Linked DNA regions of Homo sapiens: region 1 is linked to region 2. The links are contacts of gene promoters, found by promoter capture Hi-C in human tissues and cell types (Jung and others, 2019). All regions are on one chromosome and are shown on one strand. The core of a region is centred on a gene start or on the middle of the fragment in contact, and the rest is flanking DNA. Distances in the headings are between cores, read along the strand shown. Region 1 overlaps SUCLA2 (succinate-CoA ligase ADP-forming subunit beta). Region 2 holds the start of HTR2A (5-hydroxytryptamine receptor 2A).

What was found. Contacts are between HindIII fragments. The study calls those that stand out against the background at their distance.
Region 1: a contact is called between a fragment that was not itself captured here and the fragment with the promoter of HTR2A in region 2, in 1 of the 25 tissues and cell types used here (dorsolateral prefrontal cortex).

Annotation. Positions count from the first base shown.
Region 1 is chr13:47,940,805-47,948,061 of GRCh38, forward strand. It overlaps SUCLA2 (succinate-CoA ligase ADP-forming subunit beta), which reads right to left. Exons shown (of 11, transcript NM_003850.3): 11 at 1,852-2,641. The coding sequence ends at 2,567. Among named protein-coding and RNA genes, the nearest start is that of LINC00562, 12 kb to the left of the region's middle. The HindIII fragment of the contact is 5,565 bases long and covers 2,951-7,257 here.
Region 2 is chr13:46,893,599-46,900,555 of GRCh38, forward strand. It overlaps HTR2A (5-hydroxytryptamine receptor 2A), which reads right to left and starts at 3,455. Exons shown (of 4, transcript NM_000621.5): 1 at 3,076-3,455; 2 at 1,897-2,636. The coding sequence starts at 2,308. RefSeq lists a silencer at 556-765. The HindIII fragment of the contact is 6,478 bases long and covers 1-6,098 here.

The sequences.
Region 1 (7,257 bases), core at 4,483-6,982, 1.0 Mb after region 2:
CTAATTTTTGTATTTCTAGTAGAGACAGGGTTTAACCATGTTGGCCAGGCTGGTCTCAAACTCCTGACTTCAGGTGATCCACCCACCTCGGCCTCCCAAAGTGCTGGGATTACAGGCGTGAGCCACCGCACCTGGCTATAATTTTAAATGGTTTATGGCTCTGATACTCTGTGTCATATATATGTAAACTACCAAATATATATTTGGCTAAAAATACATATTGTTTTCTACATATAAATTCTCTCACATATTTTTGTTCTCTTCCCTTACTAAATAAACTTCACTGATAAGAAAAGAGCTAAGTAAACTGAGGGACACTAGCATTAAAACTTACTCTAAGGCAGAAAGACTGCTTGATGCCAGCCTGGGCAATGTAGCAGGACCCCATCTCTATAAAAAATAAATTAGCTGGGCATGTTGGCATGCACATGTAGTCCCAGCTACAAAAGGAGGCTGAGGCAGGACGATCACTTGAACCCAGGAGATTGAAACTGCAGTGAGTCATGATTGTGCCACTGCACTCCAGCCTGGTTGACAGACTGAGATCCTGTCTCAAAAAAACAAAAAACAAAAGAAGCCCTCATACAGCTAGTAAGTAGTGGATCCAGATTCAAAGCAGACAGTCTACTTTCAAAGTCTGTGCTCATCATCACTACGTTATGCTGCCTCTCATAGTATATACATCTGATCACACTTTAAGAACATCACAATAGGTAGAAGTTCTTAAATCCATCAGTATGGTTAAATAGTCTACTGCTTGGTCAACATTTCCTTCCATGGCATTAGTTAACTACCAAGTTTTATGCAGTGAGCAAAAGGTCAATATGTATATATACACACACACATATATTTACATATATGGACAAAAAGAACCATGTGACTACAATCTGTCTAAAAATATCCACCTGTTACCATATAAAACATCATACAGACTTTGGGAGTCCGAGGCGGGCAGATCACGAGATCAGGAGATCAAGACCATCCTGGCTAACTCGGTGAAACCCTGCCTCTACTAAAAATACAAAAAATGAGCTGGGTGTGGTGGCAGGCGCCTGTAGTCCCAGCTACTCGGGAGGCTGAGGCAGGAGAATGGTGTGAACCCCAGAGGCGGAGCTTGCAGTGAGCTGAGATCGTGCAACAGCACTCCAGCCTGGGCAACAGAGCGAGACTCCATCTCAAAACAAAAACAAAAACAAAAACATCATACAAATTTAGACATGTCCAAGACCAAAAAATAAACTCAGCTTCTCTCTTCCTCAGTAAAATAGTTAAGAAAAGGCTTTGAAGTTAGGCATCTTGGATTCAATTCTCCCCTCTGTTTCCTTTAGAGGATATACTAGATGGCATACACATAAATAGCAGACTTCCAGTGAACTATCTATCTATAAGTAGCTGTATAATATGTATGGTTGGCTGGGTGCAGTAGTTCATACATGTAATCTCAACATTTTGGGAGGCAAAGCCAGGAGGATTGCTTGAGCTCAGGAGTAAGAGACCAGCCTAAGCAACATAGTGATACCCTGTCCCTACCAAAAAAAAAACAAAAATCAAAAACAAAAAAAAACACATATGTTTTTTTGTGGTGTGTGCCTGTAGTCCCTGCTACTTAGGAGGCTCAGGTGGGAGGACTGCTTGAGCCCAGGAGGCAGAGGTTGCAGTGAGCATGATCATACCACTGCACTCCAGCTTGGGTGACAGAGTGAGACCCTGACTCAAAAAAAAAAACAAATCACTGTCATGGCAAGTATATGATCTAAGAATTGGTGCTTAGACCTCTATACTGCAATAACGAACAAATCAACTTCTACTGTGTTTACCTCAAAACAAGCAAACAAAAGCCATGAACCCAAATCATATTGGGAGATTTTTATTAACTTAAATTGACATTCTTAATTTTGTCTGTAAGTCCTTGGTATATATGCCTTTATTTGAAGCAAACCTACAGGTGTTTCTTAATATGACAGAATCATGAAGACTTGCAGTTAATCAGTGTTTCCTAATGATTAAAACAATGTTCAAATAATTACAAAGTTACTTCATCAAAATACTTAGAAGAATATTCTGAGGAGTGTTTGAAAGCTCTGTTTATAAATAGTGATTGATACATTTATCATGTATTTGGTGCTGAAGATAAACACTTTTTACATAAAACATTGTTTTAATATACTGCTCTACTAATGAGGCTAGTTATTAGATATACTGTATTTTAACACTAAAGAATAAAGCTTTATCTTCGTATTTATCTTATTTATAGGACTCTTATCAATGAAGAACTTTGTATCCAACAATAATAAACTGGCAAATTGCAAGTTACGTTTTGTAGGAGAAGCAAAAAAGACTGGCTGCGACAAAAGAAAGAAGATAACTGCATTATACATGCTTCGTACAAACAGTCCATTCTGAATGGTACAATTAAATGCAGTCCAAATCCTTTTAAATGTTTGTGTGCCTAGATGGCAATTACAATCTCCACACACTAAAAAGAAAAAGAACAATAACACAGAACACAGTATTCTTAATGATTATAGCACATTTAACACCTTCAGCCATCCACTGGGTTTTCAGATCATATTGGCAACTGAAATTTCACATCCACATGTGCTTGCTTCGCTAAGGTCACTATTTCAGAGAGCTTTACAACCTAAAAGAAAAGAACGAAGAATTTTCACAAAAAGGTAAATTCAGAACTACAGGTCAGTGCAAAATTAATGTACACTCAATTTTTTCCATTTAAAACATCTGGACTATTCTGACATTGCTATAAATCACATTACGTTCTTATAAGCAAATGACATTCTCAAAGGATAATCAAGTCTGACACTCCTCATAGTCCAAACTTCAATTAAATACTTTCTGATTAAGATGTTATACCACCTGCTAGGATTACACATATGTATTACATAAGATTATATATGTGTGTATAAAATGTGTGTGTATGTATGTGTGTGTGTGTGTGTGTGTGTATATATATATATATTATTCTAAATTTTATCTTAAAGACAGAAACAGTGAGTGTCTTTGTTGGATACTCCACAACTCAAAGCACATCTAAGTAAAAATTTGTTTTGAAATAAGTATACAATCTTAACTTAAAATGTTGGGATAGAAATTTGGGTCTACTAGTTAGTATTTTACTTTTTGTCAGTAAGTTAACAATTGCTAACCTGAGTTCCAATTCTCTCTACAATCTGTCTAAAAATATCCACCAGTTACCATACAAAACATCATACAAATTTAGACATGTCTAAGACCAAAAAAACAAACTCAGCTTCTCTCTTCCTCAGTAAATTAGTTAAGAAAAGGCTTTGAAGTTAGATATCTTTGGCTGCAAATCCCCCCTCTGATGCTTATGACATACAACCTTGAATAAGTTAACTTATCTAGCCTGTTTCTTCATCTATAAAAATGGAAATTTTATCACCAAATTCATATTAAATGAGATAATCCTTGAAGAAAACAGCTTAGCATTGCATGCACAGTAAACACTCAATAAACAGTAGTAACTGCTAATATCATCATCATCTCATTCAATATTATTATTGTTATGACTTCTATAATCTCCCAGTCAATAAAAACACTGTAGTCATAATTTAAATCAACTGTTCACTTTTACCTCTCATGATCTATTTGATCAAGGTCCTACTGGTTCTTCTCCTTCTTTTCATGTCCTCCAAGCTTTTCTTAATTTAAGTTTTCATTCCAAAAAAGTGCACTTTCAGAGACAAGTTATAACCTATTTATTACCTTCACCTTTTCTCATATCTAAGTATTGCACTAGATGGACTCCTACTATCTCTCCCCTTTTCCCTTCAATATATCCCACATCTCAAAGTCAAAATAGGCTTTCTGAAATACTTTCTCCTACTATTCCCTTGCTCAAATTCTTTATTTTTAATTCAGGTTTAAGTTTAAATTCTTCTGTCTCCAAGCTAGAGTTAAATTTTGTTTACTAGTAAGTACTTTCCCAAAGAAGGACATAAGACTTTTATTATTTTTGTGAAATGACATCACATTAACTCGGTAAATTCAAGAGTCTGGCCAAGCCTGGGGGCTCATGCTTGTAATCCCAGCACTTTGGAAGGCCGAGGTGGGAGGATCATATGAGGTCTGGAGTTCGAGACCAGCCTGGTCAACATGGCAAAACCCTATCTCTACTAAAAATACAAGGCTGGGCGCAGTGGCTCACACCTGAATCCCAGCACTTTGGGAGGCCGAGGCAGGTGGATCACAAAGTCAGGGGTTCAAGACCAGCCTGACCAACATGGTGAAACCGCATCTCTACTAAAAATACATAATTAGCCAGGCATGGTGGTACATGCCTGTAATCCCAGCTGCTTGGGAGGCTGAGGCAGGAGGATTGCTTGAACCTGGGAGATGGAGGTTGCAGTGAGCCGAGATCACACCACTGCACTCCAGCCTGGGCAACAAGACCAAAACTCTGTCTTAAAAAAAAAAAAAAAAAAAAAAAATTAGCTGGGCGTGGTGGCACACACCTGTAGTCTCAGCTACTCAGAAGGCTGAGACACAAGAATTGCTTAAACCCAGGAGGCAAAGGTTACAGTGAGCTGAGATCACGCCACTGTACTCCAGCCTAGGTGACAGAGCAAGACTCAGTCTCAAAAAAAAAAAAAAAAAAAAAATCAAGAATCTACTATTGATTAAGCTATAGAGCCCAAAGAGTGTTCGAGTGTTCAATGAAATGTCTATAAACATAATGGAAGGGAAGACAAAAAATTCTCATCTCTCTGTATCTACTATGAAGTGTTCTCTGATACACATTATTGTTAAGTAAAAGAAACAAAGTATAGATTACCATTAATCTAAAGTGGGAAAAGGGAGACACACACACACACACACACACACACACACACACACACACACAAAGTCCCCCCCTTATCCAATTTCACTTTCTACAGTTTCAGTTACCTGCAGTCAACTGTGGTCCAAAAATTTTAAATGAGAAATTCCAGAAATAAAAAAGTCATTAAGTTTTAAACTGTGTGTTGTTCTGAGAAGTGTGATGAAATCTTGCACCATCCTGCTCCAAGTGGAATGTGAACCATCTCTTTGCCCAGCGTATCCACGCTGTATAAACTACTCTTCCATTAGTCATCAACATTATCTACTCTTGACATCCAACAATCAACATCATGGCTCAATGATCCAGGATGAACCAAAGCAGATGATTCTCCTTCTGTTACATCATTAGGTCAGTAGTAGCCTAACACTATGTCACAATGCCTTCATCATTCACCTCAGTTCATCTCACCAAGTAAGCATTTTATCATCTCATTATCACCACAAAGGTGAGTATAGAACAATAAGATATTTTGAGAGACCACATTCACATTTATCACGGTATATTGTTATAATTGTTCTACTTTATTATTAGTTGTTGTTAATCTGTTACTATGTCTAATACATAAACTTTATCAAAGGAATATATGTACAGGAAGAAGCACAGTATATACAGGTTTGGAACTATCTGTGATTCAGGCACCCACTAGGGGTCTTGCAACACATTCCCTGCAGATAAGGGGGGACTACTGCACACATACATATAGTTATATACATACAATTAGCTTATGTTTTTAAGAAGTGGAAAGATAAACCAAAACTTTCTTAAAAAACAAACAAAAAAAAAAGGTAAAAAGGTTGCCTGTTGGGGAAGAAGTAAAGAGGGAAATATATAAAAGCTAGATTCCCTGATAATACCTTGTTCTATACTTTCCACTTTGGAATCATGTAAATACAAAATAAAAAACAAAAGGTTGTGTTTTTTTTTTTTTAAAAAAAGCAATCCCTTTAAAAACAATGAAACTATACAAAGCTGAGACAAAACACACAGAGAATTATTTCACATGAATTTTAAAATCCACTAAGTTGTGGGACATACCCTAAAGGACAGAAAGAAATGCAGATATAATTGCTTTCAGTAATCAGACTGTTGGTATTCTTATTATAAAACTGTCATATCTGTACTAAGGGACAAAGCAAATGAATAATTATGATAGTATGGCATGAACGAAGGTACAAACAGATGTCAGATAAGAAAAAAAAATCTATACTCCTGGACTTGCATTGAAAATATCAGTATGAACTCAAGTATTACCTCTTTAAAAAATACATGTTTTCTCAGACTTGCCACTTAAAAAGCTCAGAAACAATAATCAACCCAGTATCTATGAATACTCATAAGGCCAAATTGTGCTCTCTAAATACCATTTGGCCCATTCAAGTTCTGACTCAAGAAACGTAAAGATGAGCCTGAAACATTTTATCATACCAGATAGAGGGCTTCTCAGAAGGATGCAACAGTTAACCTGAAGAGGTTCCCAAAGACCAAAGGTTGGACAATTTCAATCACAACTTACATGAACTGAACTACATCAATGTTTTAAGTCATAAGTTCAAAACAGTATGCCAGTGGAACACACATGTGTATGCATGTGTATGCACACACGCACAATACACACACACACACACACACACACACCTGAAAACAAAAAGTAAACAAAATACAAAAAAAACAAAAAACAAAAAAAACCCTAGGTCACCTTTATTGGACATAATAGAACAAACATTATTTTGAAAATTGGTCAATAAAGGCAAATAATCAGGTAATTATCCTACTTTTCCTATGCAAAATGTACTCCATGGTAACAAATGGTTGACACGTGGAAGTATTACTTTTTAGAAGCATTACATATAATAAGTGAAGAATGACAGAATTACAATAGCAACGCTTTGCAACACAAACAAAATACTGGATCTAAGCTATGATGTCAATGGCTAGTAATACCACAAAAAGATTAACATTGTATACGTTTTGATGAAATTAAACACCTACTATGAAATATTCTTGTTCCCTGCTCCCCAAAATCAAATATGAATATGGTCAAGCCTACAGACTGAACTCCCAGTTTACAGGAAATACACAAGGCAGAGAACACAGAGAGGGCAGAGAACACAGTAAATGAATGACAGCCTAAAGATGCAACCATTAAAATCCAGACTATGAGAAACTTAACAAGACCATCAACCTGGATTTTTCAACAAATAAACCACAGAAAATACTTTTCTTTTTAAAAGGGGAAACCAACAGATTAAGAAACTTACTGACATATTAACCAACTACAATGCAGAGACTTATTCTGACCCTTACAAAGAACTTAAACAAAAGATATAAGAGACTCAGAAATTTCAACAGACTGTATTTTTATAAAACATAACCATAATACCATTACCCCACCTAAA
Region 2 (6,957 bases), core at 2,205-4,704:
GCTTTTTCCAAGCTCCCCAGACAATTCCAATGTAAGAGATACTGCAGGTCACCTGCTATATGAGGAAGGTTAGAGTGTGCTTTATGGACATAAACAAAGTGTCCTGGTTTTGTGTTTTGGAGGGGGATTAAGCAGTTATGTAAACCTTAATTAGTTTTGATCACAGTATAAGCAGCGGAGTTAGATCTGCCTGCATGTAAGAAGGAAAATTTTAAAGTCCACTTTTCTTATTACAGACCCACAAAGCCGAACAAACTCCAACGCAAACGTACACTCTCTACCAAAATGCCACAAGGGATATTTAGACAAGTAAAGGGCGTAGGTACAAGCCTAATTTACAGCCATTCACATGTATTATTTGCAAAGAGCTTGAGCCGAAAGGAAAGCCTTTTCCTTTGCAGCGCCTTATGGGGGAAGCCACGCTCTGTCTGTTCGGAACAGATGTCGGCCCTCGGAGGGGTTTCTCTGCCAGGAGGCGGCCCAGGCCTCAGTCCGTGTTTCTGATGCGGGATAAGGAGGGGGCATTTCCTTGTGGGAGAAGCCCCATGCCCCACGCCCCGTGGGCTGGGGGAGGCTGGAGGAGCAGCCTAGGGAGGGGCGGGGCTCCGGAGGGAACGGGCTGCTCTCAGAGCGGCGGCCGCCAGGGGGCGCCCTTGCTCCCCAAGCGGGTGACGCCGGGGGTCACCCCACCCTCCAGCCTCTGTTTTGGGTCCCGCTCTGTCACTCCTCCTACCCCCACTGGAGTTTGCCCCCTAGGGGAGGGGGTTTGGGAAGCGAGAATCTTCCCCGGGATGCCGGGGAAAGGGCAGGCAAATTAAATGAAATCATTCCGGTGTGGCATTTAAATGGTCAAGTGAAGGCTGGACTTGGAATGAGTGTTACTAGCTTTGTGCAAACTGGCGCCTGCTCGCCCTTGCGTACCGCCTTCCTCCTTCACATTCTCTAGGGCTGGGTTGATGTTTTTTAATCTTAGCCCCTAAGACTTGACCAGAAAATTTCCCTTTAAAGATAGCTATCATAACCTGTCTCTAAGCTCTGAGTGACTGCTGCTTGTGCCTGTGTCAGCAGTCACAATAGTCTCTCCTTTAAGGAGGTATCTGGCTGTATTACTCATAATTTGGAAAGAATATCACATTCTGGTCCCTTGCTGAGAGGTCTGACTGTTTCAAACTCTGTTGAGAAGAAAGCAAGATTAATCCCTTCCCATTTGTTTCCCACCCTCCTCCAAACCAGACTGGAGGAGTTTATGCATATGCATTTTCAAAGAGTTGAGGATATAATTCAAAGGCACATTTCCAAATTAGCTTCTCTGGGCAGGGAACAATTAAAACTGGAGTAATTCATTTATTCTAATTGAGGTTCTGCATATTTTAACATAAAACCTATTGCACCACTAATGTTCTCTCTGCAAATGTTCCAAAGTAATTGGGAAGGCTTTATCACTCCATTAAAAGTGCTGAAAACTGTGTGACAAAGATTAAAACTGTTCTGTCCTGAAGGCTGGAATATTGGTTGGGAATATAAAGAAGCAAAAATCAAGTAGATTCAGAATGATGGGTAAGTTATTGGTTTATGACTGTATGGGGTAATTTATAAAAATTTCTACATTAAATGTACATGTTTTGAAGCACAAAACTCTCCAATGATCATTTTTACACAGGATGTACGCGTTTTGAAGCACAAAACTCTCCAGTGATCACAGGTCATAGACTGTCTGATTTTTATGTGAAATCCCATTTTAAGAGTAAAATATAAGTAACATAGTAGGCTCTAGTCTATAAACAAAGACTTCTATTTATAGTTTGTTTGCCCCCTGAGCCCCATCTCATCTGCTGGTGGCATGCACATGCTCTTTATTACCAGTGCGAATATAGCTGGGAAACTAATGCCACTCACCATACAGGATGGTTAACATGGACACGGGCATGACAAGGAAACCCAGCAGCATATCAGCTATGGCAAGTGACATCAGGAAATAGTTGGTGGCATTCTGCAGCTTTTTCTCTAGGGACACTGCCATGATGACGAGTATGTTTCCAGCAATAGTTAGAATAATCACTACGGCTGTCAGTAAAGCAGACCAGTTTTTTTCCTGGAGATGAAGTAAGGAGAGACACGACGGTGAGAGGCACCCTTCACAGGAAAGGTTGGTTCGATTTTCAGAGTCGACTGTCCAGTTAAATGCATCAGAAGTGTTAGCTTCTCCGGAGTTAAAGTCATTACTGTAGAGCCTGGTGTCATCATTTAATTGCATTAGGGAGTTCGTAGTTGAGCTCAAAGAAGTATTTTCTTCACAAAGAATATCCATGTCTAAGCCAGAACTTGTAGCAGATGAGGTGTAGAAGGACTAACAGGTTATAGTTTCTGCTCACCATTCACCTTGATGTACCCACACTCTGTAACACTGAGGCTGGTGTACATGCTGTTCTCCCGGGGCTGGATTTTTGTCTTCCATTATTACAATGATAGTTAAAGAACTGAACTGTGGTGGCTGTAAGTTTTCTTCATTCACAATTTTAGGAGAGTCCACTGTTTGGTTTTATTATTTTCTCACCAAACCGAGGACAAAAAAGCAGAATGAACTTTTAGCATAGAGGTTGCAGGGTTTTTTTTGAGCGCTCGGGAAGATAAATGTCCTGGACAAAGAAGAAAAGTTTTATAACTACTGGGACTCTTGTTTAACTATATCTCATTTTGTTGGTTATGCCGATGGTACTAGTTTAGCAACAGTATTATTAAAATAGCATGCAATCAGAAACAGTGGGGATGTACACATTCTACATTAAGAAAGTCAATTAAAAATACATCCAGTGTTAATCCCATAGTAATTGGATGTACTTTGGGTTACAGTTCTCAGCCATTCTTAAGCTGAATTGCCACAGCTGCTGTCAGGAATTTCAGCTCCTATAATGTTGCTTAGCTAATAAAAGGAAAACAAAAAAGTCTTAAGTAAAGATTAGCAGACAACTTTCCTCCCTGGAAATTCTCATTGAAATGATTACATGTTGGCCAAGCATGATTTCAAACCGGAAAGAAAATTACACAGCAATAAAATATAGCGGCATGAGAACTTACATTTGTCTTCAGGGTCCACACATGAGATACATTTGTTATTCTGTGACTCGCTGCATCTCTCACAGTAATTAAACTGGTGTAGAGTCCCCTCTTCTTGATCTTCCACCAGCATAATATGATAGTAATTTGGTTTCTGTTTTGCTGACTTCAAAAACTGCATGCAAGAGCTGAGCCAGCTCCCGCACTGCTAGGATCCTGTTGGCTTCCTCTGGCACGGCTCGGCTGGGTTCCTCCCTCCCTGTGCGGCTCGCCTCAGCAGGCACACATTTAGAAATCATTCACGAGCCCCTCAAAGTCGCACAAAAGAACTGCATGGGAAAGTAGGAAGAGCTGTCTGCACCAAGGGACTCCTGGTTTCCACGGGAATGGAGTAGCTCTCTGACTGTCTCGTTCATTTCATCAGACCTCCCTCTATGTGTATGTCATAAGCTGCAAGGTAGCAACAGCCAGGAGGGCGGACCAAACAGGCTTTTTCTTCTCCCTCTTTTTGCTACATATTAATATTGGGAAGTTTTCCTTTGCTTTTGAGAGAAACTGGAGAAATGGCCTTTTGTGCAGATTCCCATTAAGGTAGGTAAGTGGCACTGTGGTAATTTTTTAGGCTGAAGGGTGAAGAGAGAACATAAATAAGGCTAGAAAACAGTATGTCCTCGGAGTGCTGTGAGTGTCCGGCACTTCCATCCAAAGCCAACAGTGTTTGTGTCCAGAGTGGAATTACTGACATTGGCCACATAGGCTCAGGGTGGCTAGGCACGTCTGTGGTGATAACTCTGATAAACTATTAGCACTATTTTTATTTAATAGATACACCATTGAACTGGCTTATTTTCTTCAGCAGAAATATGCCACCCAGATATTATTCAAAACCTCACATGTGGTAGGAAATAAGTTGGTTTCGCAGTACCAATTTTTTTCCCCCACCAGTAATGACAACTTGCCTTACTTGTAAAGAAAGCCCTTTCCCAAGTAGGTTTCTAAAGGAGGCAGTTCGATCTCTCTCTTTTTGCAGGCATGAAAATATTTTCCTCAATAGTTGGGTTTTGCTACAGTTCTATCACCTTCTGTTCTTCACATTCTCCCTGGACAAATTCAACCACTCTCATGCCTTCAATATGTTTGTGGCCAAGTCTGTACCTTCATAGCTGATTATTTCTCTCAGTTCCAGACCTAAATCTCTAGCTGCCCATTGGCTCCTTCCATGGTAGCCTGGGAGACCTTGACCTCAGCATCTTCCCTCACTCCGCATCCCCCTGCCCGGCTCTCAGTGCTTGTTCCTACCCATTGGCTTGCATGATGGAATCACCACCTCTTCAGACAGCTGCTGTTATCCGCGACTCTTCCTTCATTCTCGCTGCCAGATCCCACTTCGTCTCCGGTGCTACCTCTGTATGCGTGTTTCTCACATGTCCTCTCCTGCAGCCTGCAGCTGGCACCCTGTGGTCGAGATCTAGCCACCTATTTCCTGGGTGGGTGCCTTAGTGCCCCCCTCACTGCCATGCCTGCCACCCTCCTACCCCTCCACGTTAAATATGCACGCTGGCGAGCAGGCAGCGGAGAACACAGACCTTAGAGTTCCTTGGTTTTGGATCCTAGCTCTATCACTCATAAACAGTAGAACCTCGCCTCATCTAGTTGCTCCCTTTAAAGCTCAGTCTTCTCACTTGTAAAATGGGATAATACCTTCCTCATAAGATTGTAGTGAAGCTAAACTGAGATAATGTGTGTAAGTATTTGGCCCATGTCTGGCTTATAGGAGGTTCTCAAGTAATGTCAGCCACTTTCATTCCTATTGATATTCTTACTGATATTAATGACACAATTGGCATCACTCCCATGCCTACACTCCTGCAGTCCCTTCCTTGTGGGGCACATAACACTTTTCTTCATCTACCTGTACCCTGCTTGCCCCACTTTGCAGGCCTGGACTCTGGTTACTCTCCCAGTCAGCCTGTATGCAGACTGAACTTACATGTTTCTGACCATTTTTATGTCTCTGTACTTGTACTTCCCTGTGCCCGGAGTGCTCTTACCATTCCTTTTTTGTGTGTGTCCATCTGGCAAATTCGTGCTTAGTTCCAGAGCAGCTCTGGATCCCAGGCCTACCACTCACCACATCTGTAAGCGTGATTAAGCTACCTAATCTCTGTGTTTTAGTCTCCTCATCCGCAAGTAGGGAACATTAATAATAAAAAGACCTCAGGATTGACGTGAAAGCCAAATAAATTTACATATTTGCCTGGCACATTTTAAGCACTCAATAAAGGTTAGTTGCTATTATTCTTACTAAGTTTACTGTTCCTAAGCTTTCTGTAGCCCTCCTTCCCAGTGGAGGCAAAGACTATAGCACCTTCTGCAGCCTTCTATTTTTAACACATCATGTCTCATGTAAGCCTCATAAAGGCAGGAACTGTGTCTATCTTGTTAACAGCTGGGCGCATAGTGCTTAAGTATGTTTGTTGAATGAATGCATGACATCTGTGTAAATGTCTGTCTTCTCTATTAGATGTTGAACTTCATTTCCATACCCTTAATATAGATGTAATCTATATTACATCTATCTTATACTATTATATTATCCACCCAGATGCAATTCATAAACCTCACATGTGGTATCTAAGCATGGTATCTCATAATGGAAGGTCCTCAACAGATGTGTTCTGACTGAATTGTTATTAGCATAAATTAAGATGAATTGATTATTAAAAAGGAGAACCAGGGAGAAACTTAGAACCTCTCATTTTTTCTTGTTACTTTGTTTATTGGGATACCAATTTAATTTTATTAAAGATAGCAGAGGGAAATGTAATATAAAAAATACTCCAGTGTCAGGAAGTTATTCAAAAGTTTTCTGAGGTTAAATTTTATAGATGTTCTTGTTATAGCTCTTAGAGAATTCTGATGATCTCAGTCCATTATTTCTCATGAAGAACAGCTAGGCTTCTAGTCATGCCAAAACTAATCAGTGTTTCTTATTATGTGGTTTACACTGGGAAATATTTTTTTGGCTACCATCTAAGATTATTTCTAGTTTTTATTGCAATTTTATGAATACTTGTTATGGACAAAGCAGTAGGGGCATAATCTAGGCTCCTGATTCTTAAACAGAGCTTCTAGGTTAATAGCATGAGGGTTAGATTAGGTAGGAATAGTTTCTTGCTGGGCAGATGCCCCTGTGAGTTTGGTGAGACGAGTGTGTGTTGGCTGCTGTAGTGCGCACCGTGATGCCTCGCCCAGCTTCTGCTTCAGGGCTGAGACTCGGGCTCCCTGCTGCTGGAAGGATTGGTGGCTGGCTCTCCACTCTTTCTGTGAACACTCCCCTCAGCCAAGGAAGCCAGCTTGCCAGTGGTCATGCCCCTTCTCTGTGGCAGCCAGCATGCAAAGACTGGTCCATTGTGAGGATATAAAGGGCTGGCCCTCTTGCCTGATGGCTGAAGAACTTTGGTTCCAGTGCTTCTATGGGATTCACTGAGGCCTTTGTTGTGTCAAATCCAAGTTAAATATCTCCCCTTGTCCAGTCTGGCTTCTCTTGCTCCCCTGCCGGTGTTGATCTGAGAGCTCGCCCCACACAAATCTCTTGCACACACATCAGTCACAGAGTCAGCTTCCTGGGGAGCTCAACCTATGACCTATCATCTTTAGCTGTGTATTAATGCCTTGAATAACATCTCTGGGTGAGTTGGATGTCTTACACAAAACAGATAAGTGTTGTCTATGTGATGATGAATGATGCTTCCTTGCCATAAGCTTAGAATTCTTCAATATACATCTGGCTTTGCTATCTAATTACTGCCAGAAGGAATTTAAGGTTAACAATACCAGAACTATATTTATTATCTTGGGCAGAATTTCTCTAGTTCTTAATTGGACCATATATAGGAATAC